Linked DNA regions of Homo sapiens: regions 1, 2, 3, 4, 5 and 7 are each linked to region 6. The links are contacts of gene promoters, found by promoter capture Hi-C in blood cells and fetal thymus (Javierre and others, 2016). All regions are on one chromosome and are shown on one strand. The core of a region is centred on a gene start or on the middle of the fragment in contact, and the rest is flanking DNA. Distances in the headings are between cores, read along the strand shown.

Region 1 (2,700 bases), core at 180-2,679, 1.4 Mb after region 6:
GGGAAAGAGAATCAGACTGGCATTAGATTCCAATCTGTCACAGTAAATGTTACTGCATGGAGAAATGTTTAATAGAGTTCTTAGGGAAATTGTGATTATAAAATTCTGTATTCATTCATACTATAACCATTTTCTCTTTTTTTCTTTTTGGGTGGTGATATATATTTTAATTATTTAAAATTTTGCTCATTCCATTCTATAGAATAAGATTTACATTTAAGCAAAATTAATTAAAATCTAAGCAGAGAGATCAAGTTAAGCACAGGCTCCAGGAAGTCCTGCTGGGATCTCAGGAATAGCGACAACATGTTAAAAGTTTTAGTTTGAATGTCTGGAATTTGTTTGTTTGTTTGTTTGTTTTGGTGCATTCTAGAGTCTCCAAGAGTCAGTCACCATGAGTACCCGTGAGGTAGATGATACTTATTTTAACAGCACCTAAACTGGGGTTTAGGAGCTATATTTTCCAAGAAGTGACTCAGTCTAATTCTGAAATGACAAAAGCAGTTCATATCATTTTATTCACACTTGAACTCCACTGGAGTCAGGGATGAAATGTCATCTTCTATTCCAAGAATGAAGTCTTCAGATAATGTCCAGGTGCTTCAGAACTAACTAGTCATCATAAGAACACAGAGTCCATAATTTCTCCAATGTATAGTTTTTTGTGGTTTCTAGAAGCATCAAATGAATCACAGTGCTACCAAACTCCACACAGAACTAGTCACAGTGTCCTTCCTATCCATCTTAACATTAGGCTCATTTTTACATTTCAGGTATTTGTACATTTTCATAGTATAATAGGGATATATCAGGTGGAAGTTCCACTCACTATCAGTCACAAAGTAGCTGTAATCTGTATATATGTTTTTACACAGTCATGTGAAATTTATTTATATACACACATATAATCCCAGTTTGTTCACTTATACTGCTATATAATGGTCCATTATAGGAATATATCCTGTTGAAATTTGTGTGTTCCCCAGTGTTTGCTATAGCTGTTTTTGTAAACAGTGGTACTGCGGATATTCATATAAATGTCTCATGTTTGAGAATTTCTCTAACGAATCAAGGAGTGGAATTGCCAGACTGTAGGGTATATTTATTGGATATTGCTATTGCTTCTCAGGATGGCTGTAATTTACATTCCCATCAACAGAGTGAAGTTTATTTATATCTGTACTTTCTATAGTCACATTTTAAATTTATGGTACCTCATTGTGGTTTCTATTGCATCCTCCTGATTACTAGTGAGTGTGAGCATCTTATCATGTTTCTTGGCTCTTTGAGGTTTTGTTTTGTGAGTTTTTGTTGATATCTCTGCACATTATTTTGTTAGGTATTTTTAAGAATTTGATTTGTGGGAGTTATTTATACATTTTGGTTACCAGTTACTTATGGATCACAAATGTTTTCCCTGAATTTTTTCTGTGAGGAAAAGAAGTTTTAATTTTATTGTGGTTGAATTATCTTTTCTTCTGTGGTTTTGTACATTTTGTATATTGTTTAAGAAGTCATTCTCCTTTATTTTGTTTTTTAACAGCTTTACTGAGATACACTCTATACCATAACATACCCATTTACAATGTGTAATTCAGTGTTTTTTTTAGCATATTTATAGAGTCGCACAACCATCACCTTAAACTTTTCTTTTTTCTTTTCTTTTTAAGACAGGGTCTCACTCTCTTGCCCAGGCTGGAGTGCAGTGGCATGACCATGGCTCACTGCAGCCTCAATCCCCTGGGCTCAAGTGATCCATCTGTCTAAGCCTCCCGAGCAGCTGGTACTACAGGCATGTGCAACCTTGCCTGGCTAATTTTTTTATTTTTTGTAAAGATGAGGTTTCACCATGTTGCCCAGGATGGTCTTGAACTCCTTGGCCTCAAGTGATCTGCCTACCTTGGCCTCCCACATTGCTGGGGTTACAGGCATGTGCCACCTCGCCTGGCCTTTCCATCACCTTTAAACTAATTTTAGAATATACCATCATTCTAGAAAGAAACCTGGTATCCATTAGTAGTCACTCCCCATTCTTCTTCACTCTGTCCCTAAACAGCCACATAATCTACTTTCTAGCTATAGATTTGCCTATTTTGGACATTTCTCTTTTTTTGAGATGGAGTCTCGCCCTGTTGCCCAGGCTGGAGTGCAGTGGCACAGTCTTGGCTCACTACAACCTCCGCCTCCTGGGTTCAAGCAGTTCTGCTGCCTCAGCCTATCCTGAGTAGCTGGGACTACAGGTGCGTGCCACCTTGCCCGTGTAATTTTTGTATTTTTAGTTGAGATGGGGTTTCACCATGTTGGCCAGGTTGGTCTCGAACTCCTGACCTTGTGATCCGCCTGCCTTGGCCTCCCAAAGTGCTGGGATTACAGGCGTGAGCCACCGCGCCCGGCCATATTTTGGACATTTCATATAAACAGGGTCAAATAATATGTGGTCTTTTGTGACTGACTAACTTTAACTTAGCAGAATAATGTTTTTAGATTCATCCATGTTGGAGCGTGCATCGGTACCTTATTCCTTTTTATGACTGAAGTATAAAATAACTTTTATAAGACTAAACATTAGTCTTGATACCTCTAGTGGATTAAATATCCATATTAGGGATCCTGGGAAGATGACAGCAGTGGTAGAATAGTTTCCTAAATATCTATATGACTTTCCCCTAAAACAGAACAAATAGGATAGGAAAACCAAAA
Region 2 (2,700 bases), core at 91-2,590, 1.4 Mb after region 6:
TCCTCGCAGAACCCTTTCCCCAACATCCACCCCTTCTGCTCTGAGCTTGGTGATAGCCGCCGCAGTCCCCTACCAGCATGTTCTTTCCCAGGCCATGTTGTCGGGACTGTAATTCAGCCATGACTGGCAAGCAACGAATCCGCCTGGCTGTTTGCTAATGTGATGAGAAAAGCAGGCTTCCCTCTTAGAAAGAGGATCTTGGAGACACTATTGTGATTGCATCTGAAAAGCTTAGATCAAATGGATAATGTCTTCAGTGAAGATCATTTTGGAATTTTCCTATTTATCAAGTTACCTTAGTAATTTTCTGGTCTCTCTGACAGAGTAGAAGTGAATCAATCAACTCATCATTGTCCCTCCATCAAGGCCAAGTGAATTTATATCTCCATTGGAGAAGAAACAAAACAATAAGCAATCATTCTATGTTTTGTAGAGCAATTCTATTTTGATTAAAACTATTTTTGTCTTTTTTTCTCAGTGTCTTCAATACGGACTTTATGTTTTTCTGTTATAAGCACTGACTGGTTAGTTACCAAAATGAGAAATAAGTCTGGAAACATCTCACTCATTAATGTTCTGTAACATCATAAGGGGAACAAATACCTTGTATTTACATAATGTTTGCAGAAAAGTCAAATATTACTTCCTTCATCCTCACAACCATAACAAAATGTGCTTCTGAGTCGTGGTCCAAAGACCATGGGACTAGGAGTCACAGACATGAGTAGCTATCTCAGCTTAACCTTGACTACCTGTTCCTCCTTAGATAAGTCATTTAACACACTAGCCTTGGTGTCCTCATTTTAGAAGTAAATGGGCTGGGCTTGGCGCGGTGGCTCATGCCTGTAATCCCAGCATTTTGGGAGGCCGAGGCAGGCAAATCACGACGTGGTCAGGAGATCGAGACCATCCTGGCTAACACGGTGAAACCCTGTCTCTACTAACAATACAAAAAATTAGCCAGGCATGGTGGCCGGCACCTGTAGTCCCAGCTACTTGGGAGGCTGAGGCAGGAGAATCACTTGAACCTGGGAGGCAGAGATTGCAGCAAGCTGAGATCTCGCCACTGCACTCCAGCCTGAGCGACAGAGCAAGACTCCATTTCAGAAAAAAAAGAAAAGAAAAGAAAAAAAAAAGTAAATGGGCTGGATTAGATGAATTCTAAAATCTCATTCACCTCTACAATTCTGAAATGCCTGTTTGCTATCACAGTAGTCAAAAGTCCCATTTATTGTTTCTCAGCTTTAACTTCATTATTTAAGCCACCACACCAGGGAGGAGGTTAAAAATGTATTCATCGGCCAGGCACAGTGGCCCATGCCTGCAATCCCAGCACTTTGGGAGGCCAAGATGGCGGATCACTTGAGGTCAGGAGTTTGAGACCAGCCTGGCCAACATGGTGAAACCCTATCTCTACTAAAATACAAAAAATAATTAGCCGGGCATGGTGATGGGCGCCCATAATCTCAGCTACTTGAGAGGCTGAGGCAGGAGAATCCCTTGAACCTGGGAGGTGGACGTTGCAGTGAGCAGAGATCATGCCTCTGCACTCCAGCCTGGGTGACAAAGTGAGACTCCCTCTCAAAGAAAAAAACAAACAAACAAAAAAAAGCCTGGGCGCAGTGGCTCACGCCTGTAATCCCAGCACTTTGGGAGGCTGAGGCAGGCAGATCACTTGAGGTTGGGAGTTCGAGACCGCCTGACCAACATGGTGAAACCCCATCTCTACCAAAAAATACAAAAAATTAGCTGGGCATGGTGGCACACACCTGTAGTCCCAGCTACTTGGGAGGCTGAGGCAGGAGAATTGCTTGAACCCAGGAGGCGGAGGTTGCAGTGAGCCGACATCATGCCACTGCACTCCAGCCTGGTGACGGAACAAGACTCTATTACAAAATAAATAAATAAATACATCTATTTTCTCCTCTACTGAGGTTTGCTTAAGCAGTAGAAGCCAGTTTAAGTCATGCTTACATGGCTGTTATTAGAGGGAAACTGTATTATGACAAGTTTTGAAAAATTAAGATTGAAGATTTAGAAAGTGATAGTTGACCAATGAAACATATATCATATTTGCAGAAAGATCCAGTGAAAATCCAAGCAGCTTTGCTCAGATCCAAACAGTTTCAATTGCCATTGATCTCATTCAAAGCTGCCCGTGGGTGGGAGACCGACCTGGAAGGGTGTCACTAACAGAGATAGCAAATGAAAACAACTCCTCTGTATTCTCATAGCTATTTTTTTCTAAAACCAAAGGAAATCTTAGACACCCATGCCCCTTCCCATTGTATGTCTCACGTAACTCTTCTCCAAGCACAGTTTAAGGAGGTTCAGGGGAGTGGCAATCAGGGACACAATGGTGTCAGATGGTGACCAAATATCTAGCACATAGCACCAACTGAGACACCTTTCCAATGGACTTGTAACATGATGTCACACTATATATTTGAGAAAGCTTCCAGTAAATAGGTGAATGTAGCCCTGGTTTATATGCCTCTTGTCTCAGCCTAATTATTTATATGACCCCTTTTATTCTCGAAAATGTCCTGTTTTGGGAATAAATTTTACAGACATTCTATCTAACATTTCTACTCTGGAAAACAAGTTAATTTTAAAAATGGGTATTTTTGAAACAGGGTCTTGCAATGTCCAGCCTGGAGGGCTGTGGCATGATCACGGCTCACTGCAGCCTCGACCTCC
Region 3 (2,700 bases), core at 1-2,500, 1.4 Mb after region 6:
TACTTTTTTTTTTTTTTTGACATGGAGTCTCACTGTGTTGCCCAGGCTGGAGTGCAGTGGCGTGATCTTGGCTCACTGCAAGCTCTGCCTCCCAGGTTCACGCCATTCTCCTGCCTCGGCCTCCCGGGTAGCTGGGACTACAGGTACCCGCCACCACGCCCGGTTAATTTTTTGTATTTTTACTAGAGACAGGGCTTCACCATGTTAGCCAGGATGGTCTCAATCTCCTGAACTCGTGATCCGCCCGCCTCGGCCTCCCAAAGTGCTGGGATTACAGAAGTGAGCCATTGCGCCTGGCCACATTTTTGTTGTTTTAAGCCACTAAAATTGTGGTAATTTGTTAAGGCAGCAATAGGGAACTAATATACTAGAGAAGCAAGGCAGAAACCAGGTTCCTAGGTTTCAGTTCCTCCCCAGTTCTCTCTGCCTCATCTGCTGTGAGACAGCTTGCTGAATGAGATCCCCTACACCCTCCCCCACAGCACACTCACCTCATTCCACAGGAGTAAACTGCGTGAGAGAATGAAATAGACGATGTAGTGATAAGATGTAGAGCTCTGATTCTGCCTGAGCTCCTAGTTCCAGTCATTTTTTTTTTTGAGGTGGAGTGTCACTGTGTCACCCAGGCTGGAATGCGGTGACGTGATTTTGGCTCACTGAAACTTCCGCCTCCCGGGTTCAAGCAATTCTCCTGCCTCAGCCTCCCGAGTGGCTGGGATTACAGGCTCTCACCACCACCCCCAGCTAATTTTTGTGTTTTTAGTAGAGACGAGGTTTCACCATGTTGGCCAGGCTGGTCTTGAACTCCTGACCCCAACTGATCCACCCATCTCGGCCTCCCAAAGTGCTTGGATTACAGGCTAGAGCCACTGCGCCCAGACATTCAGTCATTTTTGAGGCAAGTTAGCTCAGAATTAAATTTCTGTCCTTACAATTAGCTATCCTGCCTAAATCATAAAGCTATGGTGAGAGAGGGATGGTTGCAGGAGAAGAGGTGTTTTTTGTTGTTGTTGTTTTTTTTTTTTGAGATAGAGTCTCACTCTGTTGCCCAGGCTGTAGTGCAGTGGCGCGATCTTGGCTTGCTGCAACCTCTGCCTCCCAGGTTCAAACAATTCTCCTGCCTCAGCCTCCCCAGTAGCTAGGACTACAGGCGCGTGCCAGCACGCCTGGCTAATTTTTTGTATTTTTAGTAGAGACGGGGTTTCACCGTGTTAGCCAGGATGGTCTCCATCTCCTGACCTCGTGATCCACCCACTTCGGCCTCCCAAAGTGCTGGGATTACAGGTGTGAGGCACCGCACCTGGCCGAGAAGAGGTTTTTTTAAAGGCCTTTTGATATCCGATAATGGTTTAATGTGATTCCCACAGGAAGCCACTGAAGAACACATTATTCTTAGATGCACAAAGACTCTTTTTTGTGGGAAATCCATTTAGCCACTTATTAGTTAAATTGATTTCCCACAAACAAGAGTGTTCTGAACTTAAAACATGAAAGCCGAAATTGGTTTTTTTTCTTCTTTTTTTTTTTTTTTAGTTGGAGTTTTGCTCTTGCCGCCCAGGCTGGAGTGCAGTGGCGCGATCTCGGCTCACTGCAACCTCTGCCTCCCGGGTTCAAGCGATTCTCCTGCCTCAGCCTCCCGAGTAGCTGGGATTACAGGCACGCGCCACACCAGGCTAATTTTTTTTTTGTATTCTTAGTAGAGATGGGGTTTCACCATGTTTGTCAGGCTGGTCTTGAACTCCTGACCTCAGGTGACCCGCCCACCTCGGCCTTCCAAAGTGCTGGGATTACAGGCGTGAGCCACCGGGCCTGGCTCTTTTTTTTTTTTTTTTTTTTTGAGACGGAGTTTTGCTCCTGTTGCCAAGGCTGGAATGCAATGGTGCAATCTCGGCTCACCGCAACCTCTGCCTCCCGGGTTCAAGCAATTCTCCTGCCTCAGCCTCCCGAGTAGCTGGGATTACAGGCGTGCACCATCACGCCCAGCTAATTTTTGTATTTTTAGTAGAGATGGGGTTTCTCCATGTTGGTCAGGCTGGTCTTGAACTCCCGACATCAGGTGATATGCCCACCTTGGCCTCCTGAAGTACTGGGATTACAGGCATGAGCCACCGTGCCCGGCCTTCTGTTTTCTTTAGAAGAAAACAAAAGCTCCATCAACAGAGGGGTGAGAAGCAAAGTGGGTAATATCTGACTATTATGTAATATTATCTTTGGTAGAAAGTCAAGAGACTTGGAATAAAACTGTTTTTTGGAGTTCTGAAATTTTTGTCTTATTTTATCTCTGAAAAATTTTTTTTTTGAAAATAATCAAAGAGGAGATGTTCACAAAACCTGTCAAGATGCCAAAACACCACTAATGGATCTTTAGGTCTTGGCTTACTTCATCCATTTGTTCACAGATATTTATTAAGCACCTGCCATTTGTCCTGCTGAACAAATCAAGCATGTTCCCCGCAGCCATTGTGTACAGCTAAGCAGGTGAATGGCACCCACTGGAGTTGCGTAGTGCACAACTTCCACTACTGCTGGTGGTTCTTGTCCTCATGGAGATTAAATTTAGTAACTTCTAGGAAGTCTTTCTCGAATCTCTATCCTCTTGCTCAGACTGGAAAAAGTGCTCTTATTATGTTTTCTTTTCTCTTTTCTCTTTTTTTTTTTTTGACACAGGGCCTCACTCTGTCACTTAGGCTGGAGTGCGGT
Region 4 (2,700 bases), core at 199-2,698, 1.4 Mb after region 6:
AAATAGAAAAATTAGCCGGGGGTGGTGGATGCCTGTAATCCCAGCTAGTAGGGAGGCTGCAGCAGGGAGAATCCATTGAATCCAGGAGGCGGAGGTTGCAGTGAGCCAAGATCACACCACTGCACTCCAGCCTGGGCGACAGAGCGAGACTCCATTTCAACAAAAAACAAAAACAAAATCATTGTGAGGCTTTAACTTATATTTTTTTGCAAGTTGGACTGTGTTCATGAAATACTTCCTACTTAGGAGCAATTGTGACTTTAACCTAAATAGTTTCTACTTTATCTGATGCTGCCTGTGAGAGATCCATCATTAATTAACATCTACAGATTTCTATATCTTCATAATCTTTTTTTTTTTTTTTTTTTTTTAAGACAGAGTCTCACTCTGTCGCCCAGGCTGGAGTGCAGTGGCATGAGCTCTGCTCACTGCAACCTCTGCCTCCTGGGTTCAAGCAGTTCTCCTGCCGCAGCCTCCTGAGTAGCTGGGATTACAGGTGTGCGGCACCATGCCTGGCTAATTTTTATATTTTTAGTAGAGACAGGGTTTCACCATTTTGGCCAGGCTGGTCTTGAACTGCCCTCAAGTGATCTGCCCACCTTGGCCTCCCAAAGTGCTGGGATTACAAGCATGAGGCACTGTGCCCGGCCAATATTTTCATAATCTTTTACCTATCTTGGTGCTTGGATATAGCAGATGCTCGGGACATTCTAATTTGAATTTGTCAGTTTCTTTAGCTTTGTACAAGTTACTTTGATAATATTAGCAAATTAGAACAGTAGGCAATTGATCAGTGTGTTAAATTAGCCAGGTTACAGAAAGGACTAGCAGTTGTCAACACTATTTCCTGGAGGAAGAAATGGAACATTTTTATAGGATAACCTCAACCACAGATACTTCTTCAAGATACGGTTTTATGAGGGGAGTTGTTTGAGTTTAACACAAAGGTGTTCAGGTTAGAGTGACTTTTAAAGGCTTTGCGGAGTTTTCTGTGATCTCTGGACTTCAAATTCCACATGGTTATGTTGAAGGCTTACCACGTTCCACATTTATGTGAGGACAGTTTACATCACTGTTTCTTAGTGGGAAAGGGGGAGAAGATGGCAGTCTGTTGCCCCTCATTTGAGAATCCCCAGTACAGGGAGCCACTGTTACTGACAGTGTATTGTATCCTTCAGGTGTGTGGGCAGAAAAAAAAAAGATTAAGAAGCTTTGGGTTAAATGATTTCTTATTTATTTTAAAATATGATAATTATGGCATGAGTCCCAACAGTGAGAGGATGTATCTGTAAGTTACTCCACACTTTTCAATTAACATGAACATTTTTTAGTAGGCATATATCTCAATACTTGGATAATCACTTTTGTTTTGCTTGTGTTTCTTAGGAACAAAGGAGAAACAGGCTAGCCAGAGAATTACCTTCAGCTGTATCACGAGACAAGGTAAAAAAATGTTTTTAATGCATATTCCCAATACCTAAAGATAGATTGATGAGCTCAGAATATTACTCAGTCCTAGGAGTAATTTTTTCTTCTTTTCCTCCCTTTAACACTCCATTGGAACTAACTGAGTAAAGGCATACAAGTTTAAAATGGGTTTTGAGTGATTTAAAGATAATAGTATTTTGAATTCACTGACATAAATGCTTAAAAGTAGATTTAAGCATTTATTTAAGCATTTAAGCATCAAGCTTTTTAAAAAAATTCAGTCAGTGACTTTATCAACTTTGCACATAGCTGAAATGACTCAAGATTTTATTATAATAAGAGGGTTTCTTGGAAAAAACAGTATGCACAGAACAGAGGTTTTAATTACTAGTAATAATTAAAATAGTTGTAATACTAAAGTGTGTATAAAAATCTTTTACCTTGAATTCTTTGCCAGAAAAGAATCTTATTAAATACCAAAAATAAAAATGAAGCTTTTGGATTTGGATTTTTCTTATGTATTCATCTGAAGGAAACTTTTAACAAAGGTGACAATGGTGAAGGAAATAAGGCAGAATAAACAATCTCCCATGATTATTTTCATCTTTCATGTTATTTTACGATTTCATTACAGAAGGGAAAAATTCATTTATAGAATGTTCCTGAATGCATTTTTGCATCCTTGATTTTTTTTCCCCCCTGGATTTTTTGCCTTTAGTCTTCTAAAGTTCCAAGTGCTTTGGCACCTGCCTCCCAGGAGCCCTCCCCCGCTGCTTCTGCTGAGGCTGATGGCAAGGTCTGTTCTGATTCTTAATCTAAGCCTGCATGCCTTGTTCTCTGGTACAACATAATCTTCTGGAAACAATACACTGAATAGAAGAATATTAATATGGGATACTGTGCTAAGGTCAGATCACTTTAGTCTAATATATATTTTAAAATTATATAACAATGCAATGCATAGTTTATATTGTTGACATGCTTTTGCTTGCAATATAGAAGATGCACACAGAAAAAGTAATTTAAAGAGGAAATTATCCTGCACTTTTTGAATTTCAACCCATTGGTATTTAAATTTTGCTTGTTAAATTGCATGTTTTAACATATCTTTTAACAGTTAATTCAGGACAGCAGAAGAGAAACTAAAAATGTGAGTCTCTTGCTTCAGAATGGAAATGTTGGTACCTTTGGTTCTCACTGAAACACTGTCTATACCACCATTAAAGAACCTGTTTGTGTAGTGGTATCTATCTCTTGTCTGTGTTATGTTCT
Region 5 (2,700 bases), core at 68-2,567, 1.9 Mb before region 6:
TTAACTATTTTTTTTTTTTTTTGTTCAGAAACATTTTAAAGGACTCAAACGGGAAGAAGAACCTCTTTAAAAGCTTCATTTTAGGAAAATACATAAGATAATAGATACAATTTATTGGAAGTTTACTAGGTGCCAACTATCATTTATGTGATTTAAATGTAGAAACTCCTTTATCTTCAGAATATCCCTATGAGTAGATGTATTACCTCCACTTTATAGATGAAGAAACAGAAGTACAATGAGGCTAATTTTCCCAAAGTTATAACACTACTTAATGGTGGAACTGGGATCTGAACCCAAGGACTCTGACTTCAGAACCCAATACTCATAATCCCTGTGTCCCAAGGTTATTAACGGCATATTCAAAATATTTGAATGAGATTAGTTTTAATGAATAAATGAGCTAAATGGAAAGGTCAAGTAATATCTCACTCCTGGAAGACATACAAACACATTTAAAACTGTTTTCTCATACAAGAAAGTAGATGGTAGAAAGTGTAACTGCTAATGTTAACAACTAGGCTCATTGTTACAAATGACATCAGTAACCACAAGTCACAGTGACACTGTGGGCTTTCTAGGCATAGGGAACTGAAAAGAATGTAAGGGCTTACTGAGGAACTTCTAAATACCTAGACAGGAGGAGAACAGTTTCCAACCTGAGGAGCTAGTGTTGTTAAAAGGGGCTTTAAGTATTTCATATCGTGTAGTATTTTATATTTGCAAATATATGTAAATTATGGAACAAGATAATAAATATCTGTGAGACCACCATCCAGCGTAACTAGAAGTGGATAGCATTGCAATGGCTCCTGTGTGACTCTTCCAGCTTATTCCACTACCTCCCCACAGCTCTGGTGTGATAGCATTGCCTTGCCTTTTTAAACCTAAACAAACGATTTAATTTTACCTGTTTCTGAGCTTCATGTGGTGCCTAATTTTCTAAACTTGGTTTTTAAACTCAACGTTGTTGGTTTTTAAACTCAACATTGTTTCTAAGATTCACTAAAGAGCCTGTGGACTGTTGTATTTTACTGCCATGCAAGCATTATACTATTTTGTTTATACCATCTCCTGTAATAGACATTTGTAATTCCAACTTTTTGTTGGTGTTTCTGTAAACATGCCTGTACATATCCAATGGTCCACGGTTACATCACTTTCCTGTGGGACACAGGTCTCAAACCTGGCTGCATATTAGAATCACATAAGGAGTTTGTTAAATTATTCTTCATGCCCCAGATACATACATTTGATTTTATCCATGGCTGAAGACAATGCTGTAGGGTATATACCTAGAGATGAACTTGTTGACTGAGAAGACACTGTTATTTTCAACTTTACTGATATTGTCTGAGTTTTCCAAAGCTGGAGTACCTAATTATACTTTCCCACCAGCAGTGAGAAGAGTTCCTCTTACTCCATATTCTCATTATCTGTTGATATTGTCACCCTATGCATTTTGTTTGCCAAGTTAAACAATTAAAATGGCATTGCTGACTCCTTCGGTATTGTTTTATTGGTCTGTTTATTTTTCTCTGCAGCAATACCACCCTTTCTTTTTTTTCTTTTTTTTTTTTTTTTTTTTGAGACAGAGTCTTGCTCTGTCAGCCAGGCTGGAGTGCAGTGGCACGATCTCCGCTCACTGCAAGCTCCACCTCCCGGGTTCGCGCCATTCTCCCACCTCAGCCTCCCAAGTAGCTGGGACTACAGGGGCCCACAACCACTCCCGGCTAAATTTTTGTATTTTTAGTAGAGACGGGGTTTCACCGTCCTAGCCAGGATGGTCTCGATCTCCTGACCTCGTGATCCACCTGCCTCGGTCTCCCAAAGCGCTGAGATTACAGGTGTGAGCCACCATGCCCAGCCCCACCCTTTCTTAATCACTGTAGTTTTACTTTCTTTTATTATAATCCTTCTATTTTCTTCTGCCTCTGTCAGAGTTTCTTAGTAACTTTGGACCTAGCAGTTGTTTTTGTTGCCATTATTTAATAATTTGGTTAAAATTTACTCTCATACATACCAGTGGGAAATAGAAAAACACAAGTGCTAATATTATGAATAATAAAGTTGAGACAAAGATGCAATCAAGAGATGGGCCAACATTGTTAATCTTCAGCGAGAATAAGATACTTACTAGACTTAAGTTGTTGACTGTTTGTTAAATTGACAAGGAAAGTGTGAAATGTTGGCACTACATCATTGAAACACATATCAGAAAGAAAAGGTGAAGGGTTAGAGGAAATGAAGTAATGTAATTTATGACTTAAGAATGAACAAAAAAATTTTCCAATGATCCATGTGACAGGAGAAACTCACACTATGTGGAGTTGTTGATAGGGAAATAGCTTGTTACATAAGAGATGGTGTATAAAACATAAATACTAAACTAAACCAAGTCAACTATTATTTAAACCTTAAAACTCAGCTCAAATATTACATTCACTTATTCCTGCAGAAAACAGTAGTTGTTCCTGCCTAGGCTGCTGGCTTCTATAGCATGTTGAATAGTAGTTATCTTCATGTATTGTTTTTCTCTATTATAATGAGATTCTACAGATGAAAGCTTTCTCTTTCTAGGTGTCTCTGTCTGGCACACAGTAGGTGGTCAAGAAGGATTTTTAAAAATACATGAATAAAAATCAGGTTATGAGTTCTCTAAGTTCTTTAAATTTGGCCATGTAACCCTTACATCATAGA
Region 6 (2,700 bases), core at 75-2,574:
AACCACAGTTCACGGGATCTGGGAAGAAGCTAGCCGTTACCCTGTGTCATCTTCCTGAGCAGCTTCCTCCCCAGCCAGCTCCCCAGCCTCCTTACAATGTTTCCAAAAGGCCCAACTCCCTAAACATTTGCTTCTTCAAGGTCATCCTAAGGCACTGAATAACCACCAAACACTGAGTCACGCATACCTTTCGCCTAAAAAAGATCCCCCTTCCCAAAATCATTATATAAATACTTTAAATGCCATGAGGGTTTTCTCCGAAACTCCACCAGAAACAAACTCCCAGACTTTTAGATTGGGCAACTAAATGTGTTCAATTTTGCGACATAAAATTTTAAAAGGCTTTTCAAGTCTGGCAAATTCCAGTTCAAAAACAGGTGCTTTCAGCGTACTCTGAATAACAAGGTCAAATTCATTTTTAAATTATTAAAAGAAAAAGAAAAGCTTTTCTTAACCCTCCTTAGGACAACTTAAGAAGGGGGAGAAAGAATTGCTGGGGTAAAACTGTCTCGGATAGGGTCCCTGTTTAACTCAAGAGTAAATCCTAATCTTCCGAGTGCCTGAAGTAATGGAAGGTTACAGGAAGAAAATAAAAACAAAGAAACTGACTAGGGTCATAGTTACCAGAACAAACTGCACCGCCCTACCACCTCAAGAAACCAACTCCCCCTACACCAAAACAAACCTTGCCCTTCCCCGCTCCCCCCACCCCCTAGAAACACACAAAGAAACTGGCCGCACGCACAATTCGCCCACAGTCCTCACTTCCCTTAGTAGGGCAACAGGGAGCCCCGGAACTTCCCCACGGTGGTTTATCGGGCGTCGTCGGGGCTGGGTCCCCTGGACTTGCGGGCCACAGCTCGGCTGGGGAGGAGGTGCTCGCCGCCCTCACCCGTTTCTCTGAAAGCAGTAAAATGCCTCCCCGCTCCTCCCAGGGCCCTCGGGTCCCCACCTTCCGTAAATCGTGCTTCCCCCTCGGGCACTCCGGTGACTGCCGAGAGAGACGCCGAGCCAGCAAGTAAGAATGCTCCCTGGTGGATTTGTTGGTAAATAAGACATCTCGCGTCGGGAGGAAAGTTCCTGCGGGGGCCGCTCGCCGGGGCGAGGGCGAGGGCAGCGGGAGGTGAACCGCGTCGCTCGCCGCCACCTCCCTCACCTGCGCCGGAACAACGGGCCCCGCGCCAGCCCGGCCCGGCGCCTCCCGCAGGCCGCGCCTCCCGCACGCCGCGCTGCCGGGGCTTGTTCCTCCTCATGGCTTTGCCCTGACGTAATTCAAACATGGCAACAGTTCGACTTCAAAGGCGAACCCACAGACCTCCCAGACACAGGCTCCCGGGCCACGAGAAACCGGCCGAGCAGTCCGGGCCAAGCTCCCCGGAACCCTCGGCCGTCGCAACCCCCGACGCCAGGGCTGAAGCGCCGGGCACTGCCGCCTCCCTCGGTCGCCCGCCCGCACGCCCGGAGCGGGGAAGCACGCCGCCTCCCTACGCACCAGCATGGCACCTCGCACAAGTAGCGCCGCCAAAGTTTCCCCACGAGGGGGCTGAGGGACAAAAGCCCCTCCCGAAACTCGCCCGAACTTCGAGGGCCTCCGACCTGCACGGCCCTACGCCCAGGCGGCGGCCCCGAGCGCCGGGGGCCCGCACGGGCACATGCAGCCCTTTGTTTTCTGTCCAGCCGGGCGCTGCCTACGTGCAGCATCAGGGATGTCGGAGCGTTTCGCAGGGGCCGGACACTGGACGATCACCCTGGGTAGGGGTCCGGACCCCGCGCCCCGAAGAGTCCGGAGCCTGGCCCCCCGACCCTCCCCTCGGGAGCAGGCCCATTTAATCAAAGTTTTGCAGTGTCCTTGATGAGAAACGCCCGGAGTATCCGCCCCGCACGGGCGGAGAGTTGGCGACTTTCACTCTGCTTTTTAAACTGGCAAGACGCCATCATCAGCAAACCACATTGTCCTGCCGGCCGGACCTGCCCGACGGCGGCCGCATCCCACGGCTCACGCGGGGCTGGACATTCGGACAAGGACCAGGGTCGCAGCCCGAAGCACGTGGTCTGTCACGTAGAGCACAAAAAGCAGTGCCCTGCGGAGTTCACTGACTCCCGCGGCGTACACAACGCCGCCGCCTCCATCTCCAGCCAAGTTGGCTTCCCTGGCCATCTTACAGCGCGGACGGCCGCCCATAAACGGGAAGCCCTCGCGGTGTCGCCCACACCTACGCTACAGGTGAACGCACCGGGAGCAAAACTTCGGGCTCCGAAAGCACCCCGGACACCAGAGGCTCTTGGGCGCGGTCCGAAGAGGGCAGGCGAGTGGAAGACGGGCTGTTTTTAAGCGACCGCGTGTTGCTCTCATTGTCGCATCCGCATCCCTCCGGAGTTGAGCAAACAACGCCACGCCGCGTGCGCTCCGGCAGAGCCCAGCACTGACCCCCAAAGGCCGATTTAAAGACCCTCGGCCGCCAGCTCGGAAGCGGATGGCAACTTAGTTTCCGAGCGAATGGCGTTTATTGTCCACCCTAGTCCGAGGGCTGCAGTCAACTAAACCACGAGGTTTCACAACGGCGCCCGACCCTGCCCGCGCCTCGCGCCCACGCGGACGCACCGACCCCGGCCGCTGCGCGGTGGCCAACGAGTCGCTTTCCTCTCGGGCCTTTCGGCCGCCGGGCTCCTTTCCGCGAGAGAACACTGCGGCGGAGAAAA
Region 7 (2,700 bases), core at 29-2,528, 1.9 Mb before region 6:
AAACTTGTTTAGCTCTGATAATCAAATTTATTTTCTGTACCTTTTTAGTAGTAACTGCACAAAAACTGACCCTTTTTCAATCTTTCAATTTCTACTCTTTCTGATTTGAGTAAAATATTAAATATCTGTATGTCTCTTCTCTTTAAAACAGAACTCTCCCTTAAACTCAAGTCCAACTCCAACAATACATCTCTCGCAGCACACCTACAGCCAACTTAAAAGAATGAGTTGTCCCCATTCATCTACTGTGACTACTTCCTCACCCAACTCTCACCTCTTAACTAAATTTGCTCTGAGCAAGGTAATTAACTTCCTTAGTACTGACAGACACTCCTCAGTCCTTATCTAACTGCACCTCTGAGAAAACACACTGCTTATCACTTCTTTTTCTTCTCGAAACATTCTCTTACCTTGACTTAAGTGATATCACATCCCCAATTTTCATTCTACCTGGAAAACCCTCTTTGGCTTACTGTGCAAATTCATCTTTCTCTCAAGATTCTGCACTAGGTCTCCCCCTTAACCTCCACACCTTCCCCAAATGATCGCCCACTCCTTCCATTTCAATCTGCATGTTGATTTATCCCAAATCTTGATTCTCTGCCCAGATCTCTCTGCAGATATGTATAACCCCTTGCCTTCTGTTACCTTTTCATTTGGACATTCCAAACACAATTCAGACTCAACAAGTCCAAAAATGAATACTTCACCCTGTAAAAATTGTTCCTCCTGTATCTATCTTAATGATAACACCATAAGCCCAACTACACAAGCCAGAAACATGGGTTATATCTTTAGACTTAAGCTATTTCTAAATTTCTCTTAAATCTGCCTGTCTTCTCTTCTTCAGGCCTACTGAGAAATTCCTTATGTCCAAGTATGTTCCTAGTCCCAACTGCCACAATCTATCACTACATTGCTTCAACAACCTCTAATCTTCAACCTTCCAATTCTCTCTCTATACTGTAATAATAAATTATCTTTTTAATACATAAATCTGATATTTCTCTTCAAATCTTTGTAAAACTTCCCTTCCCACTACACTTAAGAGCTTGGATTCTATCCTAACATGTTTTACAAAGCCCTTCAAAAACCAGGTCCTGCTAACCTCTCTTCAAACCCAATCACTCACAGTCTACGTTCCAACCATATTAAATCACTTTCAATTCCTTAAATATCCTATTCTCTTTGCCAGAAATATTTTTTCTTCCCCCTACCGCATCTCTACATTTGACTAACTCCTACTTACTCTTCAAGGTCCAGTCTACTCATCTCTACCTTGAGCAAGCAGGGGGAACAAAAAAACTTTCCATGGCCTTCAAAGTCTATCTGCTTCTAGAACGTTGTACCTTTATCACACTATTTCTAATTGCCTCTTTTTCTGTTTCCTCCACCGGATTGTTAGAGCAGGAACCATGTCTAACTTGATCTTTGTATCTCCAATGCCTAGCGAACAGGTATTCAATATTTATTGAGAAAAGGAAGGAAGGAAATTTTCCCAGAAACACCACAGTAGCACATCTTTCAAATCACAGCAGTATGTCATACTTAGGTAAGTAAATATATAAAAATAAGATCCACAAGAAGGATTTTCCTGTTGTCTACTGTCCCAGGACCTAGAACAGTGGCCATCACATAGTCAGTATAGCACTGTTAAACAAATGAATAAAACAGTGAATTACATTTCTAAAAGTTTATATAAATGTTATATTTGTATAATGAGCTTTCTAAATGCTCTTTTAATTTATATATAAGCATAAAGATACGGCAAGCAGTTAGTTTTACAAATCTCCTAATAATACATACAACCTATTCAACACTCCTCCCTTGAAAGTCTAGCTGGAATATATCATGTGGCTCCCTACCCATCTCTAGCTTCCTCCATCCCTGTTTTCCAGGGGATATCACTCTAGAATGGAGCACCTCGCCCCTCAGCTACTCCACCAGTCCCATTCCTGAAAGCTCAGCACTAACCTACCTCCAAGAAATTCATTCCATTTTGCATACTTGCCAACCTACTGTAAAAGTCACTGTCTGGCATAAACAAGGTATCCAATAACTTCTAGCTTTTCTAAAAGAAATTGCTGTCTGCTCTCTTTATAAAACCTGACTTTCTATTGGCAGCAGTTCCATTCCAATCCTTAGTCATTTCTGAGACTCACAGGTTACAGAAGTATCATGTTTTACCATATTTCTCAACCATCTCTCATGTTTTGTGCTATGTATTATTTGAAGCTCTTTAAACATTAATTCATTTAATCTTGTAAATGACTCTATGAAGCAGCAGGTACTATTTTTAATCCTACTTTTTGATGAGGAAATGAGGCACAGAACTGTCAAATAATTTTCCCAGGCTACATAGCAGGTGGTAGAACTTGAAACTATGCTCCAAACCACAGTACACACTGATTCTCACTTCCGTACTTGTTGCTATATTCCACTAACATCTGAATATATTCATAATTTGCTTAATGACTTCAGCACCCAGATCATTCAATATGCTTCTCCCCCACTCCATTATCATCCTTTGGAATTCATGCTCTGATGGCATTTATCCTATAGCATTCATTCACAATAAAACCTTTTTACCATGTAAGCTTAACAGCGCTTCTCCTCCTGTGACCTCCATCTTAATTCTATGGAAAGCCACCCATGAGCAAGGTCAACCCTTAAAACTGTTCCACCTCTAAAATCCAAAAC

What was found. Contacts are between HindIII fragments. The CHiCAGO score rates a contact against its expected background, and 5 or more counts as called.
Region 1: a contact is called between a fragment that was not itself captured here and the fragment with the promoter of FLJ13224 in region 6, in 8 of 17 cell types (activated CD4 T cells, total CD8 T cells, naive CD4 T cells and 5 more). The highest score is 7.3, in activated CD4 T cells.
Region 2: a fragment that was not itself captured here is called in contact with the fragment with the promoter of FLJ13224 in region 6 in 3 of 17 cell types (naive CD4 T cells, total B cells and non-activated CD4 T cells); the score reaches 7.6 in naive CD4 T cells.
Region 3: a contact is called between a fragment that was not itself captured here and the fragment with the promoter of FLJ13224 in region 6, in 8 of 17 cell types (naive CD8 T cells, activated CD4 T cells, fetal thymus and 5 more). The highest score is 10.6, in naive CD8 T cells.
Region 4: a contact is called between a fragment that was not itself captured here and the fragment with the promoter of FLJ13224 in region 6, in 4 of 17 cell types (naive CD4 T cells, total CD8 T cells, total CD4 T cells and 1 more). The highest score is 6.6, in naive CD4 T cells.
Region 5: a contact is called between a fragment that was not itself captured here and the fragment with the promoter of FLJ13224 in region 6, in 1 of 17 cell types (total CD4 T cells). The highest score is 5.5, in total CD4 T cells.
Region 7: a fragment that was not itself captured here is called in contact with the fragment with the promoter of FLJ13224 in region 6 in 3 of 17 cell types (activated CD4 T cells, naive CD4 T cells and fetal thymus); the score reaches 11.1 in activated CD4 T cells.

What each region holds. Positions count from the first base shown.
Region 1 is chr12:32,691,989-32,694,688 of GRCh38, forward strand. All of the region lies in intron 1 of DNM1L (dynamin 1 like), which reads left to right. Among named protein-coding and RNA genes, the nearest start is that of DNM1L, 14 kb to the left of the region's middle. The HindIII fragment of the contact is 2,885 bases long and covers 1-2,700 here.
Region 2 is chr12:32,762,144-32,764,843 of GRCh38, forward strand. No RefSeq gene overlaps it. Among named protein-coding and RNA genes, the nearest start is that of YARS2, 7.6 kb to the left of the region's middle. The HindIII fragment of the contact is 2,225 bases long and covers 229-2,453 here.
Region 3 is chr12:32,674,532-32,677,231 of GRCh38, forward strand. No RefSeq gene overlaps it. Among named protein-coding and RNA genes, the nearest start is that of DNM1L, 3.4 kb to the right of the region's middle. RefSeq lists an enhancer at 1-862. The HindIII fragment of the contact is 2,972 bases long and covers 1-2,700 here.
Region 4 is chr12:32,735,719-32,738,418 of GRCh38, forward strand. DNM1L (dynamin 1 like) reads left to right here. Exons shown (of 20, transcript NM_012062.5): 14 at 1,387-1,443; 15 at 2,147-2,224; 16 at 2,546-2,578. Among named protein-coding and RNA genes, the nearest start is that of YARS2, 19 kb to the right of the region's middle. The HindIII fragment of the contact is 481 bases long and covers 1,209-1,689 here.
Region 5 is chr12:29,398,127-29,400,826 of GRCh38, forward strand. All of the region lies in intron 1 of OVCH1-AS1 (OVCH1 antisense RNA 1), which reads left to right. Among named protein-coding and RNA genes, the nearest start is that of OVCH1-AS1, 10 kb to the left of the region's middle. The HindIII fragment of the contact is 2,493 bases long and covers 72-2,564 here.
Region 6 is chr12:31,322,992-31,325,691 of GRCh38, forward strand. FLJ13224 (a long non-coding RNA gene) reads left to right here and starts at 1,325. Exons shown (of 1, transcript NR_026806.1): 1 at 1,325-2,700. All of the region lies in intron 1 of SINHCAF (SIN3-HDAC complex associated factor), which reads right to left. RefSeq lists an enhancer at 2,248-2,700. The HindIII fragment of the contact is 3,270 bases long and covers 443-2,700 here.
Region 7 is chr12:29,373,897-29,376,596 of GRCh38, forward strand. All of the region lies in intron 1 of ERGIC2 (ERGIC and golgi 2), which reads right to left. Among named protein-coding and RNA genes, the nearest start is that of ERGIC2, 5.9 kb to the right of the region's middle. The HindIII fragment of the contact is 2,633 bases long and covers 1-2,595 here.